2 separate regions of the Homo sapiens genome follow, and region 2 is linked to region 1. Evidence: promoter capture Hi-C in human tissues and cell types (Jung and others, 2019). All regions are on one chromosome and are shown on one strand. The core of a region is centred on a gene start or on the middle of the fragment in contact, and the rest is flanking DNA. Distances in the headings are between cores, read along the strand shown. Region 1 holds the start of ARNT2 (aryl hydrocarbon receptor nuclear translocator 2). Region 2 holds the start of TMED3 (transmembrane p24 trafficking protein 3).

Region 1 (6,189 bases), core at 994-3,493:
ACAGCACGGCCGACTCCAGACTTGGGAAGTGTCTAGCAGTTGTCCACGTGTCGCCTGTCTTTTATTGCAATGGACCAGTGCAAGAAGTAGGAAGCTTGAGCAAGATCCAGTTTTAAAGATATCAGCCGAGTAACATTTAGAAAAATGGGCAGAACACAACAGCAGAGTAAGAAAGTAAAACTTGTCAACAAATTTGTATGGTTAAATGTGTGTGTGCGTAAGAGTCATGTTCACTCATATTTTATTTTTTAGGGATGATATTAGAACTGTATTTGGAGACAAAATGAGCCATGGGTCCTGGCTGAAATGCTAAACTGATACATAAACACCAAGGAGAGGAACTTGCTTCCTTCTAAGGGGTGTGGAAAGTTGGAGAATAAAAGAGCCTCGTGGGATAGGGGGCAGTGATGCCAAGTGCTATTTATGGGCTATTTATGGGCCACCAGAGATTGAACTGCCTGTGGGGAGAAGGATCCAGAAGGGACTCTGGGTAGCAGAAATATCTGAGATGGAGTTTTACCTTTTTTGATGTGGAGTGAGTGAAGAGAGCCTCCTCTTTTACTTTCCTTAAGAAATCTTCAGTCCAGTATACGTTATACATTAATTAAGTTGGTATTTTGAGTGTGTTGCTTTTCGGGGTATGTAGAAGAGAGGCTGAATTCTCATTTGGCTTGATGTTGGAATCAGGAACAGTCAACTTTGATACGGGGCACAAGAGCGGGCCATAGCTGATACCCTGGTTTCTCTGTCTGGGCCTGGCCTATCTTGTGGCTGGGTGCACACCTGCTTTATTTTTTACTTGAAATGTCTTCTTTTTCCACCTGTCCTACTCATGTCTTCAAAGCCTAATTTTCATTTTCCCTGATCACTCCACCTCCTCTCTGCCCTCATTCATTCATTAGTGACTACAGGCTGGAGATGCCAATTTCAGGGCTTCTGCCCTAAGCCCCCAAGGGAGCTGTGTGCTTCTTGAGTGCAGATACTTTGTTTCACTCTTCCCCACTCTACCCCCCAAACCAGAAGAACAGAGCTCCTGTTTCTTCCTTTCCATGGTAGGCCCAACACCTGGCTTTGTGCCTGGCACACAGCAGACATTCAACATTTGTAGAACTGATAGACTATTAGATTAGTAGTGACAAATACTCCCCGAAGAAAATGCTTATTTGAACATACATCCCAAATTTTCTGCCCTCCAGAAAATGCTTCCTTGGAAGGATTTAAGACAGTTTGATGTCTCTGCAAACATTATCTGCGTTTAGGGACCAACTTGCCCTTCTCAGCGTTCACCTGGGATGTCTTTATTCTTCCATTTAACCTTTACAGGGGACCCCGATGGTGACGTGTCCTTCCTAGGGGCCATTACCTCTCTCAGGGATCCTAGTGTCTGGTAGAAAACAACAGCTCCAAGTTCTCTGCATCCAAACTTCGCCAGGATACGCAGATAAACCTATTTAAAAAAAAAAATCTTTTTAAATTCTCAACTTGGTGGTGTAAATAAGGCCCTTGCAGCGCCCTCAAGTAATAATCAACGGCAGTCATTATGGAAGGAGGGTAGAGATGAGCGCCTTACTCAAAGCCAAGACATTCACAATTTCTCGGGCCGGCTGCCTGTGCCTGGGCGTGTGCACTGTGCACTCCGAAGCTGTGTGCGGCGGTGGCCTTGGAGGTGCGCGTGGCCTTAGGAATTCCCGCGGTCGGGCACCCTCCGCTTAACACCGGGCCGTGTCCCCGGCCTGGGAGCCGAGCAGCGCGGCTCTGGCATGCTAAGTGGGCAGCACTGGGGCGCCTTTGTTCCTCGCGGCCGTCTCCCAGGACCGGCTTCCCTCTGAATCTAAATGGGCTTCTCCCTCACCCGCTCCGCCCTGGCCTCCTGGCCTGGGCACGGCGCCCCTGGGTAAAGCGCGCCCGGACACCTGGGGCGTGGGCGTGCGGGGGCAGCCCGGGCTAGGCGAGCGCGGGAGAGGCGCCTGCGGTCCCAGCCCGGCCAGGCCCGAGCACCTGCGCGAGCCCGAGGGAGCGCCCGGCCCTCTGCCCCCGCCAGTCGCCGGCGCCCAACTTGGGGGTCCCGCCGTCCGCAGCCCCAAGTCTCGCGGTGCTACCGCTCTGACCGGGGAGCCGCGGGCCGGGCGCCCCCCGCCGCGCGACAAAGGCTGAACCGGGAGGAGGAGGCCGAGGAGGGGGAGGAGGAGGAGAGAAAGGCGGGGACGGCGAGCGGCCGCGGCGGCGGGGAGAGCGGAGGGAGCGCCGCCCGCCCGCGCCGTCCTTTGTGTGGCGGCGGCGGCGCCTGGGCCTGACCGGGTCCCCGGGGCTGAGCGCCGGGCTCCGCGCCGCCCCTCCCGCGCCCCTGCCAAGCGGGCGCCTATCCTCTCCGAGCAAGATGGCAACCCCGGCGGCGGTCAACCCTCCGGGTGAGTAGCGGCCTGGGCCCCGCCGCCCGCCGCAGCCCGCAGGCCTTGCCCGGGGCCGGAGCGGACCAGGCGCGCCGGGCGCCCCCGGGGGCGCGGAGCCGCAGCTCGGCGCGGTGGGTGGTGGAGCGGCTGTCACTACGCGGCAGCCGCAGCATCAGCACCAGAGCGGCATCTGCATCCCAATCGCTGCCCATCCGGTCCCGGGCAGGCGCCGGTCCGGACCCGCGGGCGGCCGGACGCTGGCCTCGCATCCTCGGGAACCCGAAGGGCAGGCCCGGGAGCCCCCGAAGTTCTGAAAATAACCGCCTTTGCCTTCCCCATCCCACGCATTTTTCTCTTCCGGTCCCGGCTTTTGTGGCATCACGGCGTCAGCCAGTCCTGGCTGGTGGAGGGCTCCGCGCTGACGGAGGGAAAAGTTTGGAGCTGGGATTCAACAGGGTACAACTCCCGGGACTCTCCCCTGCCCGCCCCGCCCACTAAGCGCTGGTCCTTTGCGCCCTTTGCGACTGGCTGCTGTGTGTCCTAACCCTCCGGGGGCACAAAACACCCAGCCTGTGGTCACCAGCGTGGAGCAGCCCTGGTCCTGCCCAGGTGACATCCTCTGCTTTCTGGTCTGACCTGTCCCCAGGGTGCAGTCTGTGACAACTGAGCTCATTAGGAAATATTTCAAAAATGGAAGAGTTCTTGATCAAGTGGCAACATTGACTTGTTTTGGTATTGTAGTAGGGAAGTTCCGTTTTCACTGGGAAAGTTCCCTACCTGATGAGCAGGGTGTGGGAGAAGAGAAACGTGAACATCTAAGCTAGTACAAACTTTTGGGTGTTGTGCAGAGGCTGCTGTGGGCACGGCAGGTTGCTGGGTCCCTGTGGAAGATGCAGGGAGAGTCACAGAGGGCGGCCCCCAGGAAATTCCCAGCAGAGGGAGGTCATGTGTTGGAGATAGGGAGGGTCGGGGGAGGAACAGCAATGCCTAGCAAAGAAAAGTGTCTCTCATCATAGAATTAGGAATGAAAGATCCCTTTCATCTAAGGCGGCCAGGGAAGGCTTCTGGAGATTGGACATTTCGGCTGAACCTTGAAAACGGGAATGTTTGAATATACAGAGCCAGTAGCAGAGGGGCATTGCAGGCGTAAGTAACAGTGGACTTGCTCTAAGCAAGTGCAGAGGTCAGTGAGTAGTTGGTGCACTGGGGATATAAGAGGCAGCAGTGGGATTTAACACTGAGTTGTTTGGATGTGACCAGGCTTTAAAGGACAGACTGAGGAGTATGGACTTTCTCTCTCCACATTAAGGGAGAGTCCTCTGCACACTTCCTAAGAACCAGAAAAATAAAATAAAATAGAAAAGAGAGAGAGAGACAGAGAGAGAGAGAGAGAGACCTCAATGGTATTGAACAAGGAAATCGCATGATCACTTTTTCTGGAAGACTGATTTGTCAGCTATGTCTAGGAAACATTCTAAGGAGGGAACAAGACTTGAGACAGGGAGGCCAGCATGAAATGAGGCAGGTGCTGGGGAGGCCAGAATTGGTGGCCATGGCTGGACCAGAGAGGAAGGAATGCACCACTGGGCGGGTAGAAGAGTTCCAGATTTGGCACTGATTAGATTTGGAGTAAGAGTAAAGGAGGAGGCCAAGGAGAGACAAAGGGGAGGTGTCCATGGAGACACCAAGGTGAAGAGCCTGTGTAATTCCAAGGAAGGCAGTTCCATCAGCAGAAATAGGGACTCTTGGAAGAACAGACAAGGAGGCCTCTGTCCAGAACACTGAGGAGGAACGTGGCTGGTCTGAAAACAAATCTGTGCCAGTTTGCCTGTGACTGAAGCTGCAATTTCAACCCATTCAACTACTTCAAAATCAATGGAAAATTGATAGATGTAAATGTTATGAAATTAGAAAAAGCAAAAGATGTTAAATGAAAACATTTTAGTCCAATATACACTGGGAACAGGAATAAAATCCCTGGTGATTTACATAATTTCTATGCCAGGACATCATTGTTTAAAACTTTTTTGTCCATTACATTGCTCCATGAGCTACATGGACTAAAGATCTAAAGATGGAGTAACTGCCCCTGGCCCCGTGGTGTGAAGCACAGGAAAGCCTGTGCCTGTGCCTTGGACTGCGGGAGACTTGAATGGTACAAGCATAGGGTATTGTTGGCGTTGCTAGTCAACACCTGGCCAGCTTGACAGATGCTTTTCTCTGTTGACAGCTATACCAGAGATCTTCAGCATGGTGATAATTTCTCAAGGGAAAATTCCTTGAGGTGATCACCTTTCCTTTTACCATCATTTCTTTTACTGGTCCCCTGAGGATGATCCGTGGGGATGTGTTATTATTGCCCCATGTGAATCTCCATCTTTTTCTTTGGGAGAAAGGGTTTAATTTTAAGGGACATGGCTCAGGGTTTGAGCCAAAGAGAGAGAGTTCAGATTCTATGGGCAATTTACAACAAAAAGAGCCATGGTACCCAAGCTTGTCACCCAGAGCCTACCTCACATGGGCTTGTGAGACTTCTTTGAATTCCTTTTTCTTCCTGCCTCCTTTCCCCAGATATGGTTGCTTTGCAAAGAATAAGAGCTTGGTAAACAGAACCAAATGGATGGGGAAGCACCAGGATTTATTTCTGCTGCTAGTTCGTGTCCAGGGTACAAAGGCCACAGCCAGTCACCTCCCCACGCCCCCACTTGTTCCTTTTTTCCCAGCTGACCACTTCACAACAGCAGAACCATTTACAATGACACTCTTCTGTGATGTGTAGTGGGGATTCTCTAGGGTCTTGTTGGTGACCGGTGATGTTGGGGTCTTCACGCTCATGTTACTCATGTTACTCTGTGGATATAATACAGGTCCAAATTTGGAATCTGCTCCTTCAAGGTCCCCTGTTGGGGTTTTAGGTTAGGATTCTACCAGCTACTCTGGGAGAGGAGAAGAAAGGATTGGGCTCCCAGATATTCTCCTCATGACTTCTGCTATGACAGTCCTGGTTATATTCCTCATATCCTGTGGCCCCTGGTGCCTCCTCCTTCTGGGTCATTTACAGTCCTTACGTTGGTCACTGAAACTGTTGTATTGGCTGATTTTCTCTTTTCTCTCTGGCCAGGAATGACATATATCCTTTAGACTAGAGAGTGAAGTCATAGAATCTTCCGTTTTGTGTGTCTGTGTGTGTGTGTGTGTGTGTTGTTTTGCTGCCTTTTTGAATGACATTTAAGTGTTTCTGATGTATAGGAAATAGTGAAGATTTGAATTAGTTATATACATAAAAGGGTATTTGCAGCTGAAATGGCACAATTAAGAAGGAGATTGTTTCCCCAATGTCATTGTTCCATCTTAATCTTTTGTAATTTAAGCATGAGGGAATCAGCTACAAATTCAGACCAGTAATCATTAGGAATTAAGCATTATGTGGACATTCTCTGAGATGAGTATTTGCAGAGTAATTAATAAGGCTCATATGTTTTAAAGGATTTCAAAATTATGTTTTAAGAGATTTGGAATTCCACTTTTTTTTCTGAAATCAATTATTGGATTTTTTCCCCACTTCCAGGTTTCTGGTCTTTGGCATTTCAATTTGGAATTAATTGTATAGTGCAGGAAGATTCTCTGGACAAATTGCCTTAGATGGAGGGACATTTGAATCAGCTTGTTGAACTGATTGGATATCTTTGATATGCCAAGCTGTCTGCAGGGAATAGAGCAATGTGGAGATGAGGGAGAATATTTCTTGACCTCAGGGGGTTCTAAGTCTACTAGGGGAGGCATAGGTAGACTAACTTAA
Region 2 (6,167 bases), core at 357-2,856, 1.1 Mb before region 1:
GTTTCAGGTGAAACAATTTCAAGATTATGGGGATCTCTGTCAGTCAGGTTCCCTGAAGGACTACATGGAAGAGATCTCTGCCTTTGAACCTGTGAAAAACATAGAAGGGATAAGAAATAAACTTTTGCTGAGTCCTGATATTTGGGGGTTGATTTTTTTTTTTTTAGGAGTTTAGGAGTTTAGGAGTGGAGGTTTAATAGGGAAAAGAAAAAGAAAGAAAGAGAAAGGAAAACAGCTCTCTCTTTAATCTGGGGGTTGATTTTTACTGCAGAATATCTTATCCTCACTAATACATAGACTGTATGAGGCTACTCTTCCTTTCCTTGCCTTCCCTTCCTCCCTTCCATTCTTTCTCCCTCCCTTCTTCCCTTCCTCCCTTAATTTTTCTTATTTTCTTTATGTTTTTCTTTTAAATTGAAGAAAAGAAGCCCAAGCTCACTGTTTGAAATTATTAAAAGTCTTGATAATTGGAAGAAGAAAACCTTTGGCATCAACTCACCCAATCCCCAACCTCAACCTCTATTTTAAAGTTTCAGACGTGGACTCCCAGACAAGGACAGAATGTCAAAACATTAATGCCAGGGTTTTGGGTCTTGAATTTCATTATCTTTCCATTCCACCATGTTACAGCAAAGATAATAAGTTATATGATGTTTTTTTCTTTTTCTCTTTTTAAAAGCAGAATAAATTATACTTATTTATATAGAAACAAAGACCCAATGGGGTAAGAAGAAGTTTGAATTTTTAGCACTAGGAAAATATAATTCATGCATGGTGAGTGGGCACATGGATTATTCTCTTCCTATATTTAAGATATTAATGTTTCTTTACCTCACACTCAAGGGAGAATATGAGTCATTTCCATGAATCCAACATAATGTGTGAATTGCAAAAAGCTTTTCAATTTTTAAAGATCATTCTGTAGTCATTTAGTCACAATATTTTCCTGTCCAAAGCTTAAAGATTGAAGCATTCTTCTTCTTTTTCAAATTTAAATTTGTTTGTTTAATTCACATAAAAATTATGTATATTTGAAGTATACAACATAATGTTTTAAAATATGCATACATTGTAGAAAGGCTACATTGAGGTAATTAACATATATATTACTGCATATATCATTTTTTTTGTGGCAAGAACACTTAAAAGGTACTCTCAGTGATTTTCAAGTATAGACTACATTATTAACCATAGATGCCATGTTGTACAATAGATCTCTTGAATTTATTCCTCTTATCTAACTGAAATTTTGTAATCATTGGCCATTTCCCCAAGCCCCCCACCCCCTAGCCCCTGGTAACCACCATTATACTCTCTGCTTCTACCTCTCTAGACACCCGCCCCCCCGAGTCAGATACAAGGGCACCCAGTTGGCAGAGCCTGGATCCCATGCCCACATACCTTGGGACCCGGGAGCAGAGGGAGAGGGACTATCTGCCCCTCTTTTGCTCTGTGATGAGAGGGAGGCTGGTTTCTCACCTAGTTTGGGATTTACCCATAGGAAGGATAGTTAAATGCTTGACAGCCACAGAAACAGTTGTTCTGGGGAAGTTTGTGAGTCTCAGGAGGGCAGTGTGTGTCACCTGTCTCTGACTGGTTTGTTCAGGGAAAAGCTGGTATTGGTTATAGCTCCATGGCAACGTTAAGCGGTTTGCAAAGTTTCCATTTGCTTTAGTCAATCCACACAGCGATTGTGTTGCTTTTTTCCTTCACCATCAATTACCTGCATGAGGCATGGATAAACTTTGATTTTGTTTCAACATACTAATAGCATGCTAGGGAGTGCTCCTGTTGCATGAAGCAATGATAAAGTTCTGCTTTAGGGCACAGATGGGTCCACCTTATACTGCCCATCTCATCATAACACACGTAACTTACGATGTTTTCAATTCATGATAGGTTTATTCAGACATAACCCCATTGTAAGCCGAGGAGCATCTGTACATACTTAGAGAAGTAAAACCTAAGTGTTCAGTTAATGAAAGTCAGAATGTGAACATTCATGAGTCTCTCTTGGGTGCCCCTTCTGGACTTCTGCATTTTCCTTCCCCTTAGATATAAGCACTATTTGGATGTTTATATATCCAATTCTTGTCCTTTTATTTCTTTTTCTTGCCTAACCTTTCCTGCTAGAATTTCTGGGACAATGTTAAATAGCAGTTGTGATAGCAGGCATTTATGTCTTATTCCCAAATTTGAAGGAAAAGACATGTTTATCATTAATCATGATGTCTGCTCTAAATTTGTTACATTTTATGACATTAAGGAAGTTGTCTATTATTTCTGTTTTGCTAAGAGTTTTTATCATGAATGGATGTTGAATTTGTCACATGCTTTTTTTCCTGCATCTGTTAAGATCCTCATTTTTATTTACTGTTTTAATATTTATTATTTACTATTTTTATGTGTGTGTTTCTTTTATTTACTGTTTTAAAAGGACTTTACAGAAGTCACCCCAGGACTAAAGTGGATAGAAAACATTTTTGGTTTTTCTTTCAAGTTATCCTACCTTTAGTACCATATATCACGCAATATTTGCCATATATCATGCAATATCAAGGTTGGAAGGAACCGTAGAGGTCATACACCACTATTATCTGTCACCCAGGCTCATGAATCATCTCTGTTGTTGCTAAGTGGTTGGTTGTTCACCTGCATCTGTTCGAATATTTTCGGGTATGAAAAATGTACTATCCTTGTCCATTCTATTTTTGGAAATCTCTGGTTCCAGAAAATCATTTATTGTGTGAGCTGAAATGTGCCTCAGTGTCAGATTCATGCTTTGGTCCAAGGTTTGCCCTATGGAACATGTAGGACAAGTGTTCCCTGAGGTATGGGTAGAGGCAGTGTGTTTAGTGGGAAGCTGGTAGTCTTCAGAATTAAGCAGATCTGGGTTCACTTTCTGGCTTAGCCATTGACAAGCTGAGTGAGTCTGGATACTATAGAAGATGGCTTAACAGCCATAATTCCTTCCATCCCAGTATGACCCTCCTTTGCAATGTGACTTTGCAACTCCTCAAATCCAGAGGTAGATTCCATTTTTCCACCTCCTTGAATCTGGGCTGGCCTTTGAACTTGCTTTGGTCAACAGAATGTGGAGAAAGTCATACTGGAAAAGGTCTGAAGCTTAGGTCTCAGGGGCCTTGCTCCTTCTGCCTAGTTCCTCTTGGGATGCTGCCCTGAACCTGCCATATAAGGAAGTAATCTAGCCTATTAGATGTAAGAGGATGCTTGGAGGAGAACCGAGGTGTCCCAGCCAACAGCCTGCATGCTCTGACTAGAGCTTCTTCAATGTCAGCTCCTCCCCTGAACTTATGCAGGTGTTTTCTTGGAACTTAAATGTAAGACTTAACATTTAATCCGGAGGAATTTATTTTGATTTTTAGAGATGGGGTCTCCCTTTGTCATCCATGCTGGAGTGCAGTAGTGCAATCACAGTTCACTGTAGCCTCAGACACCTGGTGTCAAGCAATCCTCCCACCTCAGCATCCCAAGTAGCTGGGACTACAGACCCACACCACCATGCCTGGTTAATTTTTGTTTGTTTGTTTTTGTAGAAACGAGGTTTCACTATGTTGCCCAGGCTAGATTCGAACTCCTGGCTTCAAACAATCCTCCTGCCTCAGCCTCCCCAAATACTGGGATACAGGCATGAGCTATGGTGCCCAGCCCGAAATTTCTTTTTGTTAGTCTTAGCAGAGCACTCCACCTGTGCCAGGGCAATCGTGTTTTTTTTTTGTTTGTTTGTTTTGTTTTTTTGAGACGCAGTCTTGCTCTGTCGCCAGGTTGCAAACTCCACCTCCCAGGTTCAAGCAATACCCCTGCCTCCCTGCCTCAGCCTCCCGAGTAGCTGGGACTACAGGCACGCACCACCACCCCCAGCTAATTTTTGTATTTTTAGTCGAGAAGGGGTTTCACCACATTGGCCAGGATGATCTCGATCTCTTGACCTCGTGATCCACCCGCCTCAGCCTCCCAAAGTGCTGGGATTACAGGCGTGAGCCACCACTCCCGGCCAATTGTGGTTTTATATCTGTCATTTATTTCTCCACTTAGTTCATCTAGATCAGATGATTATTACTTCCATGTTTTCTATCAGTTCCTAAAAAAAAAAAAAACGTGAAATAGGACCGTGCCAGGGAAGGAAGCTTAAGGGACACTACTAAACACCTCTTCCATGCCTGTCACTGAGCCAGTCAATATTATTAACTATGTTATGCATGCATGTTATTTCCAAGCCTACAGATTGCTTTCACACATTAGCGTGTTCATCCATAGTGAATGTGGCCAGCGGAAATCTATATGGGCAGTAACATTCTTTCCTGAAGTCAAGATATACCACGTCTAGTAATGCTCTCCTGAATAAGTTATTTATTGAGTATCGACATCACAATCTACGTCTTTTCTCTTTGTTTATTGGATCACAGTGAATATAAAACTATACCTATAGTTACGATTATACAAAAGAATCTTAAGTCAGTGGTCATGGGTAAGACAGTAAACCAATTTATCTGCTTTCAGAGCTTTTAAGAAGTCAAAGTGCAAAAATGACAGTTTTGTGCAAAAAGAATTTTCAACGAGCCTGACAGCCAAAATATACCTGAAGTCGCTGCGAGACTTTACTTGGATTTTCATGAGATCGTTTGTGTGTGAGCACGCTCGTGTTTTTCCCAGAGCAGGTGTAATGATGGGTCTTTACTTACTCTCCCCACTCCCCACCCCCTTCGCACACTCTTTCACCTTGGGAAGGGTATGGGAATGAAGAAAGGAGTGTTAATCGGGTTCCCAGCGTTCCCTTATCTTTCACCTAGCTCCCTAACTACTGTGGATGTTAGGTTTGGGCACACCCATTTCAAGACAAGGAGACTGGTTCTCGAGGGAAGTGTGAGACTGAAGTTACAGAGCCTGTCAAAAGCGGAGCCTTATAGAGGGAGTAAAATCCCACGTGCTTCGTGCTGCAGCAGCTGGAGGGTGGACCTGGGTCGACCTGGGGGGATGCTCAGCCCTGCGGGTCCGGGAGCGCGCAGAACAGCGGGGAGGGCTTCTCCCTCTTCTGGGTAGGGGCGCGCTAGGTGGAGCCCCACCTCCCCTCCGCGGAGACCCACCCTCCGAGCCGGGAGAGGCGTTGCGGGGGGGTGGGGGGGGCGTGTCCCCTGGCGCAGCGCGGCCAGCGCGCACGCGCAGCGGGCGGAAGGTGCCCGGGCCCACTTTGAGCGCGCGGCTGCGCACTGAGCCGCCGGCCCTCCCGGAAGCGCAGAGCTCCGCTGGTGCCACGTCTATCCCCTTACATCCTCCTAGGACCCGGTCGGTAGTCGTCGCCCCAGCCCGCCGGGGGCGCAGCGCCCGAGCCGCGGCCCTCGAGACGGGACCGAGAGCATCATGGGCAGCACTGTCCCGCGCTCCGCCTCCGTGCTGCTTCTGCTGCTGCTCCTGCGCCGGGCCGAGCAGCCCTGCGGGGCCGAGCTCACCTTCGAGCTGCCGGACAACGCCAAGCAGTGCTTCCACGAGGAGGTGGAGCAGGGCGTGAAGTTCTCCCTGGATTACCAGGTGAGGCCGGGCGCCCGGCAGCGCTCCCTTCTCCCTCCACTCCCAGGTCTCACCTGGACACTGGCTAGCCCCTGACTGGAGGCGCTCGAATTAGCCACAGGCTACAGGGAGGCTGCATGGGGTGGGAGTCCCCGGAGACCAGTTGACTTCCCCGTGAGGAGGAAGGTTTGGGTCATCAGGGCCCACCCGAGACGAGCCTGGCCAGCGAGGAGGTAGTCAGCGCCGCAGGTGCGAGCCCGGGATGGGGACGCCAGGGCGGATCCCGCAGCCTGGGGAGCTGGCCAAAGAGATATCCGCAGGCCCCCGAGACACTAACCAACGGCAGTTCTGATCGGCTGGACACAGGCTCTCTAACCCCAGTCTCTTAGACCACCTTGTGCCTTCGAGTACTGAAAAATGGCAGCAAGAGGAAGTGGGCTCATAGTTTTAGTTTATTCCTCCCCTCTCCAGCGTTTAAAGTTGGAGTGAGGTGAGGGCAGCAGAAGTGAGAATGGGCACTTTGGAAAGGAGGGATCAGTGCAGCCATTGAGGCCTGGCGGTGTTTACAAGGAGCGGTGTGGCTGCAAGACTTGGCTCTTGCCATATGGCTTAGAAAAGCTCAGTTCCTGTATTCCTGTCTC

Evidence for each region. Contacts are between HindIII fragments. The study calls those that stand out against the background at their distance.
Region 2: a fragment that was not itself captured here is called in contact with the fragment with the promoter of ARNT2 in region 1 in 1 of the 25 tissues and cell types used here (mesenchymal stem cells).

What each region holds. Positions count from the first base shown.
Region 1 is chr15:80,402,139-80,408,327 of GRCh38, forward strand. It overlaps ARNT2 (aryl hydrocarbon receptor nuclear translocator 2), which reads left to right and starts at 2,244. Exons shown (of 19, transcript NM_014862.4): 1 at 2,244-2,408. The coding sequence starts at 2,378. It overlaps ARNT2-DT (ARNT2 divergent transcript), which reads right to left and starts at 2,058. Exons shown (of 6, transcript NR_184070.1): 1 at 1,853-2,058; 2 at 1,364-1,447. RefSeq lists an enhancer at 1,675-2,175. The HindIII fragment of the contact is 10,967 bases long and covers 1-6,189 here.
Region 2 is chr15:79,305,871-79,312,037 of GRCh38, forward strand. It overlaps TMED3 (transmembrane p24 trafficking protein 3), which reads left to right and starts at 5,242. Exons shown (of 3, transcript NM_007364.4): 1 at 5,242-5,547. The coding sequence starts at 5,380. RefSeq lists silencers at 5,086-5,135, 5,346-5,415. The HindIII fragment of the contact is 4,061 bases long and covers 1-3,637 here.